Linked DNA regions of Homo sapiens: region 2 is linked to region 1. The links are contacts of gene promoters, found by promoter capture Hi-C in blood cells and fetal thymus (Javierre and others, 2016). All regions are on one chromosome and are shown on one strand. The core of a region is centred on a gene start or on the middle of the fragment in contact, and the rest is flanking DNA. Distances in the headings are between cores, read along the strand shown. Region 1 holds the start of ZNF468 (zinc finger protein 468). Region 2 overlaps ZNF772 (zinc finger protein 772).

Region 1 (6,508 bases), core at 1,903-4,402:
AATGAACAAAAAATTCCTACAGGAAAACTCCCACTCTCCTCCTGGAGAAGCCCACACACACGCTGCAGCAGTGGGGAGCTGGGCTGGGATGAGCTCCCCTTCAGGAAATCTCTACCAAAAATACAAAAACTTAGCCAGGTATGGTGGTACGCATCTGTGTGTCTGTGGTCCCAGCTACTTAGGAAGCTGATGTGGAAGCATCATTTGAGCTCAAAAGTTTGAGACTAGCCTGGCCAACATGGTGAAAGCCTGTCTCTACTAAAAATACAAAAATTGGGCCGGGCACATTGGCTCATGCCTGTAATACTAGCACTCTGAAAGGCCAAGGTGGGTGGATTACTTGAGGTCAGGAGTTCAAGAGCAGCCTGGCCAACATGGTGACACCCTGTCTCTACTAAAAATACAAAAAGTAGCCGAGATTGGTGGGTATCTCTAATCCCAGCTACTCGGGAGGCTGAGGTAGGAGAACTGCTTGAACCTGCGCGACCCGAGATCGCGCCACTGCACTCCTGCCTGGGTGACAGAGTAAGACTCAAAAATAAAATAAAATACAAATACAAAATTAGCAGGGTGTGGTGGCACACACCTGTAATCTTAGCTACTTGGGAGGCTGAGGCACAAGAATTGCTTGAACCCAGGAGATACAGGTTGCAGTGAGCCAAGATCACAAGACTGCACTCACAGCCCGGAGGACAGAGTGAGAGTCTGTTTGAAAAAAAAAAAAAAAGTGCATTTCTGATGGGATTGACACAGAGATAAGAAGACTTGAGTAATGCCATAGACACTGATGGGTAGAGGGAACTTCAGATGGGGGTGGGAGGGCATGGGAGACAGCTCTGAGCCTAGACCTGAAGGAGAAAGGGACAGTGCCATCTTCATTTAGAAACATTGAATAAGAGCAGGGACAACAACCTGAGACAGGAAGGATTTTGATGTTTGAAAAAAGAGAAAAGCAAATGTGACTGGGGCAGAGGGAGTCAGATGAGGGTAAGCTCCCAGGAGGAGGCTGGACACTGGCAGGGACCCTGAACACAGGGCTGTGGAGCCAAAGTGAAGAGTCGGGCTTTTGTCCTGGGGAACACGGGAAGCAGGTGGAGGGTTCCCTGCCAGGCACTGACATGACCTGCTTTAGATGTAGCTGTGATATTCTAATACAGACAAAGGCCTCCAAAGATCCTCTCTGTTTCTGAGTCTACCGCTCTGTTTCTTCCATTCTTCTGCTTTTTTTTTTTTCATTTTTGGGGTACTGCATCCCACTGAAAATTCTAATTACAACTGGGCACTCTCCTCTACCAGAAAAAAAGCCACACCCAGACACCGCCTCTATTTTGCCAATCATTTCAGGGGTCAGGATCACTCAGGTTGAGCTTTTCTGGTCTAGCCCTTCGTCGCAAAGATGCAGGGAGGTTCACTGGGGCTCAGAGCTGGAAACATTTTCACGAAGTTACCCTGAGAAGGTCTGAGATGAGTGAGAAGGTGTGCCTGAATTCTTACATGGGGGCCTGGAAGGGCTAATGGGATGGGTTGGTCTTATCATCCCATTCTTAAAATTAGAGAAGCATTTTTCACATGCCTGGGTTAAAGAAAATTCTTTTGAAAGGTTCTGATGAAATTGACTCCCAACATTGAATTCTTCCTTACAAGAAAATCACACTAACATTTATAAAATGCAGCAGTGTAAACACACAGCTCTTGACCTTGAAAACAGGGAAACAGGGTCAGCTGTAGAACCAAGACATAAGCAAATTATTTCAATCAAGAAATACATGGGTGGACAGCTGAGGTGGTTCACACCTGTAATTCCAGCACTTTGGGAGGTGGAGGTGGGTGGATTACCTGAGGTCAGGAGTTTGAGACCAACCTGGCCAACATGGTGAAACCCTATCTCTACTAGAAATACAAAAATTAGCTGGGCTCCATCCTTGCAACTTATTTAACCTCCTGTTGGTCCTTCTCCCCAATCTTTAGATCGTCCTCAATCTCCATAGATTTCTGCCTCTTCTCCCATCTATGCGCCTCCTCTGCTCTCCCTGTTAAATTCTCTCTTCTCTGTTATAACCCCCTGGACCCAATCTGGCACCCCAGATCCCCAGGTGTCCTCCCCGCTGTGCTTCTCCCTCTGTTCTCCTTGCCACCAGCACCACTCTGCTCTGTCTGACCCGGCTCCACATCCCTCCTCCTCTCCCTCACTCTGATGAGCCTCCACATTTCTGCCCCTCTCCCTACCTTGCTGTCCTTCATCTCTCTGTACATCTAGCTTTTCTCTACATTTCTCCAGTTGCTTTTCTCCTCCTGCTTTCTTATCTTTTATCACTTTTGCTGTCTCTTGGCAAATCCCTCACCCATCCTCTACTTTGCCATCTGTTATGGGTCTTTCTCATTCTTCTTTTCTCTGTCTCAGGTTTTCTACTGCTCTCTCAGTCCCTCTCTCTGTCTCCTGATCCCTTTGGCCCACACGATCACAAGAGGGTTTGGAGTAAGACGCCTGCATCTCGGAGAAGCGCATTTTCCAAGTGCTGGAGCTGGGCGGGCAAGAACACCCCGCGTCACAGGACAAGCCCCAGGCACCTCTCCAACGAGGGCTCAGGGGACGCGGTGACTGCGGAGGGGAGATCTGGGGAGCAGCAGGGCCCAGCAAGAGGAGGAGGGAGGTGGGGAGCGACGACGCCTTCGGACAAGGGTGGGATCCGCAGGATCCCAGGACCACAGAACGCAGCCTTCCCGGGACTGGGGTCGCCGCGCTGTGCTCCAGGAACCCAGGAGAGTAAGGCTGGGAGGCGCACAGGGTGGGAATACACCTCTAGGGTGAGGACTTTAAAAAGAGCCGTGCGGAAGGAGTCAAAAAACGGTTTTGAGCAGGAAAACTACGCGATAGGAAACGTATACATTGCCCTATGGCAGAAAGACCCGGGACGGGACCAGCCTCAGGGCGACTTTAAACCTAAAAAGAAGGGGCTTCCGGACTCCCAGTAGAACATCTCCATTTGCTCTGAGTGAAGGAAGAAAGGCGAGAACTTCCAGGTCTATGGGGACCCCACATCCCATGTACAGAAGTGCCGGGGACCTGGGAAGCTCAGACTTAACACCACACAGAGCAAAACTCACCGCCCGCCGCGGCGTGACCGTCATTCCACGGGATCCACTTCCTGGTCTGCGCGAATCTGCGCGCGCAGGACAGAAACCAGGCCTGGGTGGAGCCAACGAGGAGGCGAGCGGGGCCCGGGTGAGGTGTGGGCGGGGCGCGAAGCGGCGAGACCTTGCCCTTTAGAACCCGCAGAGGGCGGGGCCGGAGCGGGACCTGTGCATCTCTCAGCCTCCTCCCAACCCGTTCTCCGGGTTTTGGCGGCGAGAGCCCCCAGGAAGGCAGACGGATAATTCAAAAGCCCTGGAATAGTCTGGAAGGAGGATGCAAACTAGAATGTAAAATGCAAAGCCCTTTCTGGGCGGAACGTAGGATTTCATGCTGATGGCCCACAGGACAGTATAGAAATCTTCTCCCTTTCTATTCTCCATTCACTCAGGAGGGAGAGTCCACCCAGTGCTCAGCTTCAGAGACATCCCTAGGGCCACAGCCTGGGATGCCAGACGGAGTGCTCAGGCCAGGGAGGAGTGAGGTCACCACCTGCTGCTTAAACACAGCAGGGATGCGGGCGTGGGAGCCTGAGGTCCCAGCTACTCAGGAAGCAGCGGCGGGAGGATCGCTCAGCCTGGGGGTCCAGGACAGCCTGCGCGACAATGTAACATTCCCTCCCGCAGTCTCTCTCTTTTTTAAATTTTTAAAATAAAATTTTTATTAGGCCGGGCACGGTGACTCACGCCTGTAATCCCAGCACTTTGGGAGGCTGAGGCGGGCGGATCACGAGGTCAGGAGATCGCGACCATCCTGGCTTACACGATGAAACCCCGTCTCCACTAAAAATACAAAAATTAGCCGGGCGTGGTGGCGGGCGCCTGTAGTCCCAGCTACTCAGGAGGCTGAGGCAGGAGAATGCGGTGAACATGGGAGGTGGAGCTTGCAGTGGGCCGAGACCGAGCCACTGCACTCCAGCCTGGGCGACAGAGCCAGACTCCCTCTCTAAAAATAAATAAACAAACTAAATTTGCTTGTGTGAGATAGGAATACAACATTACTCTTCTCCATATGGATATCCAGTTAGTTGTCCCAGCACATTTGTAAAAGAGATCTGTTACTTTCTCCTTTTTATTTACATTTTTTCTTTTTCTTCTTCTTCTTCTTTTTTTTTTTTTTTTTGAGACTGAGTATTTCTCTGTCGCCCAGGCTGGAGTACAATGGTGACATCTCGGCTCACTGCAGCCTCTGCCTCCTGGGTTGAAGCGATTCTTCTGCCTCAGCCTCCGGAGTAGCTGGCATTACAGGCACACCCACCATGCCCGGCTAATTTTTGTATTTTGGGTACAGACGGGGTTTCATCATGTTGGACAGGCTGGTCTCGAACTCCTGACTTCAAGTGATCCGCCTGCCTCGGCCTCCCGAAGTTCTGGGATTACAGGCGTGAGCCACTGTGCCTGGCCCAAGAAATACTCTTTACTTCGCTTTTTAAATGTTGAAAAAATACAATTGAAAACTAAAAAATCTTCCCCAAAATGAGAAATCATCTTCATGACAAAACAGGAAGAAATAAAAACCATTTTATTAGTAAATAAGCCTTAGACCAGAATGTGTTGGGAAATACAGGCAAAGAGCTGAGAGGTTGAAAAGAGAGAAACTTCACTGCTCTATACAACCCATTAAGTACATGTTTTCAAGATAAACACTAATCAGTCCTCAGGGAAGAGGACTTGACAAGTCTTTGGTCGCACATAGTTCATCCTGGCTCTACTTGGTAATGGAGGTGACCATCTGTGTCAGCTAACTAGCTTCATGCAGAAGGAGGGGAAATACATTAACCCACGTCTTTTTGACAAGTGTGAGTTTTACGACATGGCGACAGGTGCCCTCTCTAGTGAGGCTCCTACAATCTGACGGAAACTGACGTCAGCAGTAAATAATAAAATTCAGAATACACGATTAATTATAGAGTTTATTGGAACACAAAGTTTGAGGATAGCCATCTGGAAACATCAACTCCAAATGAAGGGGGCCCGTGTTCCCATGTAGAGATGTTAAGGTTTCACACACAGGGAAAGACAGAGAAGCTTTAGCAGAATCAACACATTTTCCATTCAAGACCAGTGCATAGGCTGCGGCAGCTTGACTGGTGATGGATTGATACACTTCAAGGAAGGTTACTTTATCACTCCGTAAGAAGGGACAATGATGCCAAAAGGTCTTATCTCTGGGGCTGGGTAGTCTTCCTACTTACAGGTAAACTGTTTTTTTTTAAATTGATATTAGGAAACTAAATTTTATTGCACTACACGCTACCAGTTACAAAGTAGGGTGTCCTCATAAACAAAGGAAATGCCTCCTCTTTAAGTTTTTCTTTCTTTTTTTTTTTTTTTTGAGACGGTGTATCGCTCTGTCACCCAGGCTGGAATGCAGTGGCGCAATATCCGCTCACTGCAAGCTCCGCCTCCCGGGTTCACGCCATTCTCCTGCCTCAGCCTCCAGAGTAGCTGGGACTACAGGCGCCCGCCACCACGCCCGGCTAATTTTTGGAATTTTTAGTAGAGACGGGGTTTCACCGTGTTAGCCAGGATGGTCTCGATCTCCTGACCTTGTGATGCTCCCGCCTCGGCCTCCCAAAGTGCTGGGATTACAGGCGTGAGCCACTGCACCTGGCCTGTTTTTCTTACATAGGCGCCTAGGTAAAAACTAAGATATGTCTACCTGCCGGTCTGCTGACAGTCTAACAAAACTTATTATTTTGTTGATTTAAAGCTATCCTTAGGCGGTCCCGGTGGCTCACTCCTGCAATACTAGCAATTTGAAAGGCTGTACCAGGGGGATCACCTGAGGTAAGGAGTTCCAGACCAGTCTGGACAACATGGTGAAAGCCAGTCTTTACTGAAAATGCAACAATTAGCCAGGCCTGGGGGCACATGTCTGTAATCCTAGCTCCTCAGGATGCTGAGGAAGTAGAATCGCTTGAACTTGGGAGGCGGGGGTTGCAGTGAGCCAAGATTGTGCCATTGCACTCCAGCCTGGATGACAAGAGTGAAACGGCATCAAAAAAAAAAAAAGAAAAAGAAAAAAAAGCTATTCTTGGTATTTTAGTGTGCAAGTACTTGAAAGCATGACTGTAATTATTTTAGAAGCATAGATTGTCATGGGATATTGAGTCATCTGGACATTGTTTTTCTGTAGGAGTTTGTTCTTGCAGGTACTATTAAGCTGCTTTCCTTAACTGTAAACATCTTAAGATCATGACTCATGCGTGAGCAGTAAGGACTACGTCTTGCTAGTTTTAGTAGACTAAAACTTTGTCATTCTAGCTCTCCTAGGATCCTGTTTAACAGTTTTTCCACTCATGCACCACAGCGTTCTAAGCACAATTATGGAGACACCACTCTTTTGTAATGCACTGACACCATGTCACTGCACTTT
Region 2 (6,508 bases), core at 2,615-5,114, 4.6 Mb after region 1:
CAATGGAATTATTGCAGAAACTACCAGAAAGATAAGCAAAATCCCCAAATATTTAGGAATTAAATAACATACATTTAAAAAGAGCCATGTGTCAAGAAGAATTTTTTTAACTGGAAAACATCCTAAACTCAACTAAAATGAAACCACATCGGCTGGGCTCACGCCTGTAATCCCAGCACTTTGGGAGGCTGAGGCAGGCGGATCACAAGATCAGGAGATCGAGACCATCCTGGCTAACACGGTGAAACCTCGTCTCTACTAAAAATACAAAAAATTAGCCAGGCATGGTGGCAGGCGCCTGTAGTCCAAGCTACTCGGGAGGCTGAGGCAGGAGAATGGTGTGAACCCAGGAGGCAGAGCTTGCAGTGAGCCGAGATCGCGCCACTGCACTCCAACCTGGATGACAGAGCAAGACACTGTCTCAAAAAAAAAAATGAAACCACATCAAGCTTGATGGGAGGTAATTAAAGCAGTTCTCAGATAGATTTTTAACATTAACATCTCTTCCCCATATTAGGGGAAAAAAACCCAAAGGTTTGAAATGAAGGACCTCAGCTTCCATGTTAAAAAGTAGCAAAAGAAATGAAATCCAATAAAAGCGGAAGGCATTAGTAAAACTCAAAATGGAAAAGAAAAATCCCAAAATATCAGAAAACAGAAAATTCAATAATACCAAGTACTTTAAGATCAATAAAATTGTAAAATTGATAAATCTCTACCCAAACCAATCAAGGTTAAAAGAAAAATATAGACATTACCAGTATCAGGAATAGAAGAGGTTGCACCACTACAAATTCTACAAGTATGAAAATAATATTTTGAAAAATTTGAGTACTTAAATAAAACAGAAAAACTCCTTGAAAGACACAAACCATCAAAGCTCACTCTAGAGATAGATGGATGGATGGAGTGACAAACAGATGGACGGACAGACAGATGTATATATAACTAGTATAGCCCTCCATCTACCATGGAAATCAAACTTGTAGTTAGATGCTGTCCTACAAAACACACTTCAGGGCCAGAGTGACAGACAGACAACACACACACAGACAGATGTACATATAACTTGTACAGCCCTCTATCTACCACAGAAATCAAACTTATAGTTAGAAACTTTCCTACAAAACAAACTCCAGGCCCAGACAGCTTCCTTGGTGAATTCTACCAAACATTTAAGGAAGAAATAATACCAATTATTCACAAACTCTTCCAGAGAGCTGAAGAGCAGGAATACTTCCCAACTTACTCTATAAAGCTGGCATTATGCTGATACCAAAGCCAAACCTGGGCAAGATATAAAATTACAAAGAAAAAAAAGCAAGCAAGCAAGAAAGAAAGTTAGGGACAAATATCACTCGTGAACATTGGTGCAAAACTTGTTACAAAAAAACAAAACAAAACAAAACAAAATAGCAAATCAAATTCAACAATATACTAAATGACTAATACATCATGACCAAATGGGAATTATTACAGAAATGCAAGGTTGGCTTAACATTTAAAAAAATCAGTCAATGTAATTCATATTAAACAACTAAAACAGAAAAAGAAAAAAACCATATAGGATTATGGTCACCAGAGTCCAAGAAAACGCCCCACAAATCCCTATTTTCACCTTTGTGTAGTTCTCTTCCACTTTTAACCAGGATTAGCTAGGGTTACTTATGAAATATAGCAGAAATGACGGCTCATCACTTTCAGTTTAAGGTAATGACAGATACTGTGGCTTTGTTCTTGTGTGAGTTCTCTCCTGGATCACTTGCTTTGAAACTATTTCTCTACAATGGAACACTCTTAGCAAAGTACAAATGAAAAGAAATGAACTATGAAACACAGAACACCACCATGAGCCTTAATTTCAGAGTTTAAGAAGCCAAAAACATTAGAATACATATTAAATTACTCTATCTCTGTAGAATTCTAGGAAATACAAACAAATCTACAGTGACAACGGATCAATAGTTGCCTGGGGATGGGTGAAGGAAAGGGAGAAAATATAAAAGGAATCAGGAAACTTTTGGTTTGAGAAGTGCCAACATGTATCAAAACTTATCAAATGGTACACTATAAATATGTGCAGTTTATTGCAAAAATGTTTAGACTGACTTCTGGACAGTAACCTTAGCCATAAGAGACACAGGTATGGAAATATTTCTGTAAACCCTCATAATGGAGCCAGAGTAATGGAAACACATGTGGATGTACCTTTAGAAGGGTCATATTCCCTATAGTTTGCTGCAGTTTTCTCATTCCTTTATTAATCTGGGTTTCTGCACCAACTATGATTCCTACCTGGGCCTTCTGGAGGACAGCCAATATCAACTGCCTACTGAAAAATAGACTTCAGAGATCTTGACATGTCCACTGAGTTCAAATTCTCCTCAAGAAGCCTTGGGAATATGAAGTATCTTCTGGGAACAAGGGACGTAATTCATGTTGCTCCCAGACACATTAGAGATTATCACAACAAATGCCCACTGCTTAGGGTGACCTCAATTACACAAAAAATCTTAACATATAGACCAAAAGATTAGGCCTACAAAGACTGGCATTCTTTCCTAGGAGAGCTGAAGCAGTCAAGTAAGTTAGCTTGACACTAGCATAAGAGCTAGTCTTTGCCATCCTACTATCACTTCAGAGATACAGATAGTTGGAGCTCTCACAAAAGCTGTTCTTCCCTTCATACTGGCTTAGCTCAATTCTGTTCTCAACCCAACCCACAAAGCGAACAGAATCCTCAAGATTTCAGATAGTCTAAAAATTAAGGCATTTGTTGCAAAACCAGAATATGAGGCAGCCAATTTCAGGTCAGGTGTCTTGAAGGCTAGAAAAATTCGTCCCAAGTGCCATGTGAGATCAACTATATCCATGAAGGGAAACCTCTGCCAGTGGTCAGCAGAACAAAGCTCCCATTTTTCTGGCTAAAACTGGGTCATGCTCATGCTTAAACCAGTAGTGGGGCAGAAAAAAAGTGAGAATCCTTGATGGCCTCAGGCTACTGATGATTCCCTCCAGGGAAGGGAATAGTACAGAGGTCTGTCTTTTGAAACACATTGGGGTTACTTTGGCACAAGGCAGGACTCTTCCAGCACAAAGACAGATGGCTTCTAACAGGCACTGCCTTGACGAAATTCCAGCAAGAGTCTAGAAAATTCAGCATAGCTCCAGAAGGCTTCCCATATAGCTGGCACTCGGAAGAACCTCCCCAGGGTGAGTGTTTGAGTGTATAAAGTTCTACTTCTGGCTGTCGGCTACACATAAAGGCTATGCTTGGAGCTTCTCTCTGATGTCAGTTATTATGTTGAACAAGGAAACGGAATTATCTCCCATCCTAAGGCCTTTCTCCAGTGTGAATTTTCCAGTGGCGGATGAGGGAAGCCCTCTGCCTGAAGGCCTTCCCACATTCACTGCACTTATATGGCCTTTCTCCAGTGTGAATTCTATGATGCTGAACAAGTACATGTTTGTGGCTAAAGGCTTTTCCACATTCACTGCACACATAAGGCTTTTCACCATTATGAACTCTTTGATGTGCAATAAGGTCAGAGCTTTGGCTAAAGAACTTCCCACATGCGATGCACTCATAAGGCCTTGCTCCAGTATGAACACTCCAATGTTTAATGAGTCTGTATTTGTGACCAAAGTATTTTCCACATTCGCTGCACTCATATGGCCTTTCTCCAGTATGGATACTCTCATGCTGAACAAGTGTAGATTTGTGACTATAGGCTTTCCCACATTCACTGCACTTGTAAGGCCTTGCTCCAGTGTGTACTCTTTGATGTACAATAAGGTTAGAGCTATGATTAAAAACTTTCCCACATATGCCACACTCATAAGGCATTTCTCCAGTGTGGATTCTCTGGTGCTGAGCAAGTATGGGTTTGCGGCTAAAGGTTTTCCCACATTCACCGCACTCATAAGGCCTTTCTCCAGTGTGGACTCTCTGGTGTTGAACAAGTGAGTCTTTGCGGCTGAAGGTTTTCCCACATTCACTGCATTTGTAATGCCTTTTTCCACAGTGAGAGGCCTCCTCACACTTGGTGTTGCTGTGTGGCTTCCACTCATTGTGAGGGGCATGGTGCTCGAAAATGCTTGAGCTGGCTAGGAAGTCCTTACAAGCCTCCCCTGTCACAAAAGACATCTCCATTGATTGCACAGCACAGTTGTTCAGAAGAAAGGGCCTGCTCTTATCACTTCTAAAGGGTTTCTCTCCACTGTGCTGCTTCTGGTGCTGGTGAAGGTTTGCACTGAAGCAGAACTGTTTCCCACACAGCACACACATGTATGGTTTCTGCCCTGGGTGTGTTTCCTGGTGCTCAGCCAAGTGCAAAATGTCTTTTAAGACCAGGCCACATGTCCCACAGGGGTAAGCCTTCTGAGTAGAAGGACCTCCCTTGGGAATCCTGATCTGTGACATTCCTATAGAAAAGCTCTGCTCAAAAGGTATCTCTTCATCCTCCATTCCATGCCAACAACCTGAAAGCAGAGAAATGCTGGTGAAGTACAAATTGACACAGGTGGAAGAGGGGAAGCCTCACTACAAATATGTGTCTAACACAACTAAGACCAAGGTCATAGGACTGTTGTTAGGACAAGGGTCCAAACTCAAGTTCAGCAAATGTGTACTATACGGTAGTTGGCATCTAAATGTCATAGAATGGAGAAGGCCTCAACTGGGAGAGGACAAAGATGTGGGGTACAGCACAAAAAAGAGGCAGGTCTCAAAGTCATTCACAATCAGATTTTCTTGGCTGCTGGGGACAGGTGAGAGTTGTGCAGAAGGTTATGGTCCATACCAAAGAAAATCAAATTGCTACTCAGTAGTTGGTGTTTAAGGACTATTTGGGCTACACATCTCATGAAACACTAAGTACAGGCCAATGCTGGAAGGCACTGTAGAACAAGCCATGGAGAGGAACAGGTGAGACATGAAGGCAGAGGTATGGAACATCCAGAGGCCAAAGGCCAGAGTATGAAAGGCCAGTGGCCTTAGCACTAATACAACTGTAGGCACAAAGAGGCTATGGAATGATATGAACCCAGCCCTGACATCACACCTTTCCCCAGCTCCTACTCACCAGGGTCACTCCCACCTGGAGTCTCTGTGGCAACAGCTAGGGTCATGTCCACCCAGTCAGGTACCCAGGGCTCACTACCCATCACCAGTGAGGCAACTATGTGGGACATGAAAGATGTATGTCCTAAGGGAAAGATAGAACAGCACTGGTCTGGGTAACCCATATAGAAAACTAAATATTATTAAAATAATCTCAGAGTAAGGTCTTGCAGGAATAGTGCAGTGGTCCTAGCAAGTAGCGACCATAATGGTCCCTACAATTCCTGACATAGGCAGGCCACAGGAAATGTCAGCTAAAGGAAGAGCGCAGAATCCCAGGCACAGAGGTGTCATGGATACAGACAGAGGAATTCAGACAGGGAAAGGACAAGATGGATATGACCCACTGGGCTGACAATACAATGCATAACTCCTGAATCCATGCCTGCAAGGCTCTGAGACAGCAAGCGCTGGGAATGCTCAAAAGGAGAAAGTAGGAGTGCAAACAGCCCAAGCCCAGCACTCACAGAACCTACTCCAGGCACTAAGAAATGAGACAGTGTCCACGGCTCTGATGTAGGAAGGACAAAGATGCCCTGAAAAAAAGGGGAAGGGCAGGACCCAGTCCAAGTCACTGGGGTGGATGTGACGGCCTTACCCAGAGAGGCCATAAGTGCAAAGTTCTCCAGCATCACATCACGGTACAGGAGCCTCTGAGCCTCATCAAGGAGCACCCACTCCTCCTGGGAGAAGTACACGAACACGTCCTCAAAGTTCACCTGCCCCTGCCACAATCAGGAGAGCCAAGTCCATGAGCAGCATCTCTCCCAAGAACCCCCATCCGTGCCCCCACACATCTCCCTCCTGTACACCCTCCTACCTAACTCCTCAACTCAGGAAATATCAGGACCAGATGTCATTGGTGTCTTCTCTCGCCTCATGGTCCCAATGGATCACTGTGTCTACCCATAGCAACCACAGGCAGGTGAAGAAGTTGTCACCCTCTAAGCTCTGTGCTTAGCATACAGGGCCTCACCCTTCTGTAAGCAAATTCCTCTGGGGTCACTAACATCATGCTTACCAGACAACCAAAGATGGGCTTGCCTTTCTCCTTTAAGCCCAGACGTCATCAGTCTACACTTCTTTCCATATGTACATCACTCTTTGGATCACAGTTATCTCACAACTCTGGCTCTCCACCATCACTTTCCTGGCTCACTAAATGCACTACCACTGTGAAATGAATATTCTCTTTTAACTCCCAATCTACATAATCATCTTTAAGCCATTTCAGGATGATTCCCGCCCCCTTGCTCTTGGTTCCCACCAGACATGACAGAGACCTGCAATTTCTTGAAAACTCCCTTCTCAGTCTCACCTCTAAGTATTTTGCACAGGCTGGTTCCTGTGCCTGGAACAACCTTCCAACCTTATTCCAATGGTTGG

The links. Contacts are between HindIII fragments. The CHiCAGO score rates a contact against its expected background, and 5 or more counts as called.
Region 2: a contact is called between a fragment that was not itself captured here and the fragment with the promoter of ZNF468 in region 1, in 1 of 17 cell types (total CD4 T cells). The highest score is 5.0, in total CD4 T cells.

Annotation. Positions count from the first base shown.
Region 1 is chr19:52,854,467-52,860,974 of GRCh38, forward strand. It overlaps ZNF468 (zinc finger protein 468), which reads right to left and starts at 3,153. Exons shown (of 4, transcript NM_001008801.2): 1 at 3,106-3,153. It also overlaps a transcript of ZNF320 not described here. RefSeq lists an enhancer at 2,752-2,831. The HindIII fragment of the contact is 10,660 bases long and covers 1-5,155 here.
Region 2 is chr19:57,469,940-57,476,447 of GRCh38, forward strand. It overlaps ZNF772 (zinc finger protein 772), which reads right to left. Exons shown (of 4, transcript NM_001144068.2): 3 at 5,721-5,847; 4 at 1-4,482. The coding sequence ends at 3,335. Among named protein-coding and RNA genes, the nearest start is that of ZNF772, 4.4 kb to the right of the region's middle. The HindIII fragment of the contact is 6,834 bases long and covers 448-6,508 here.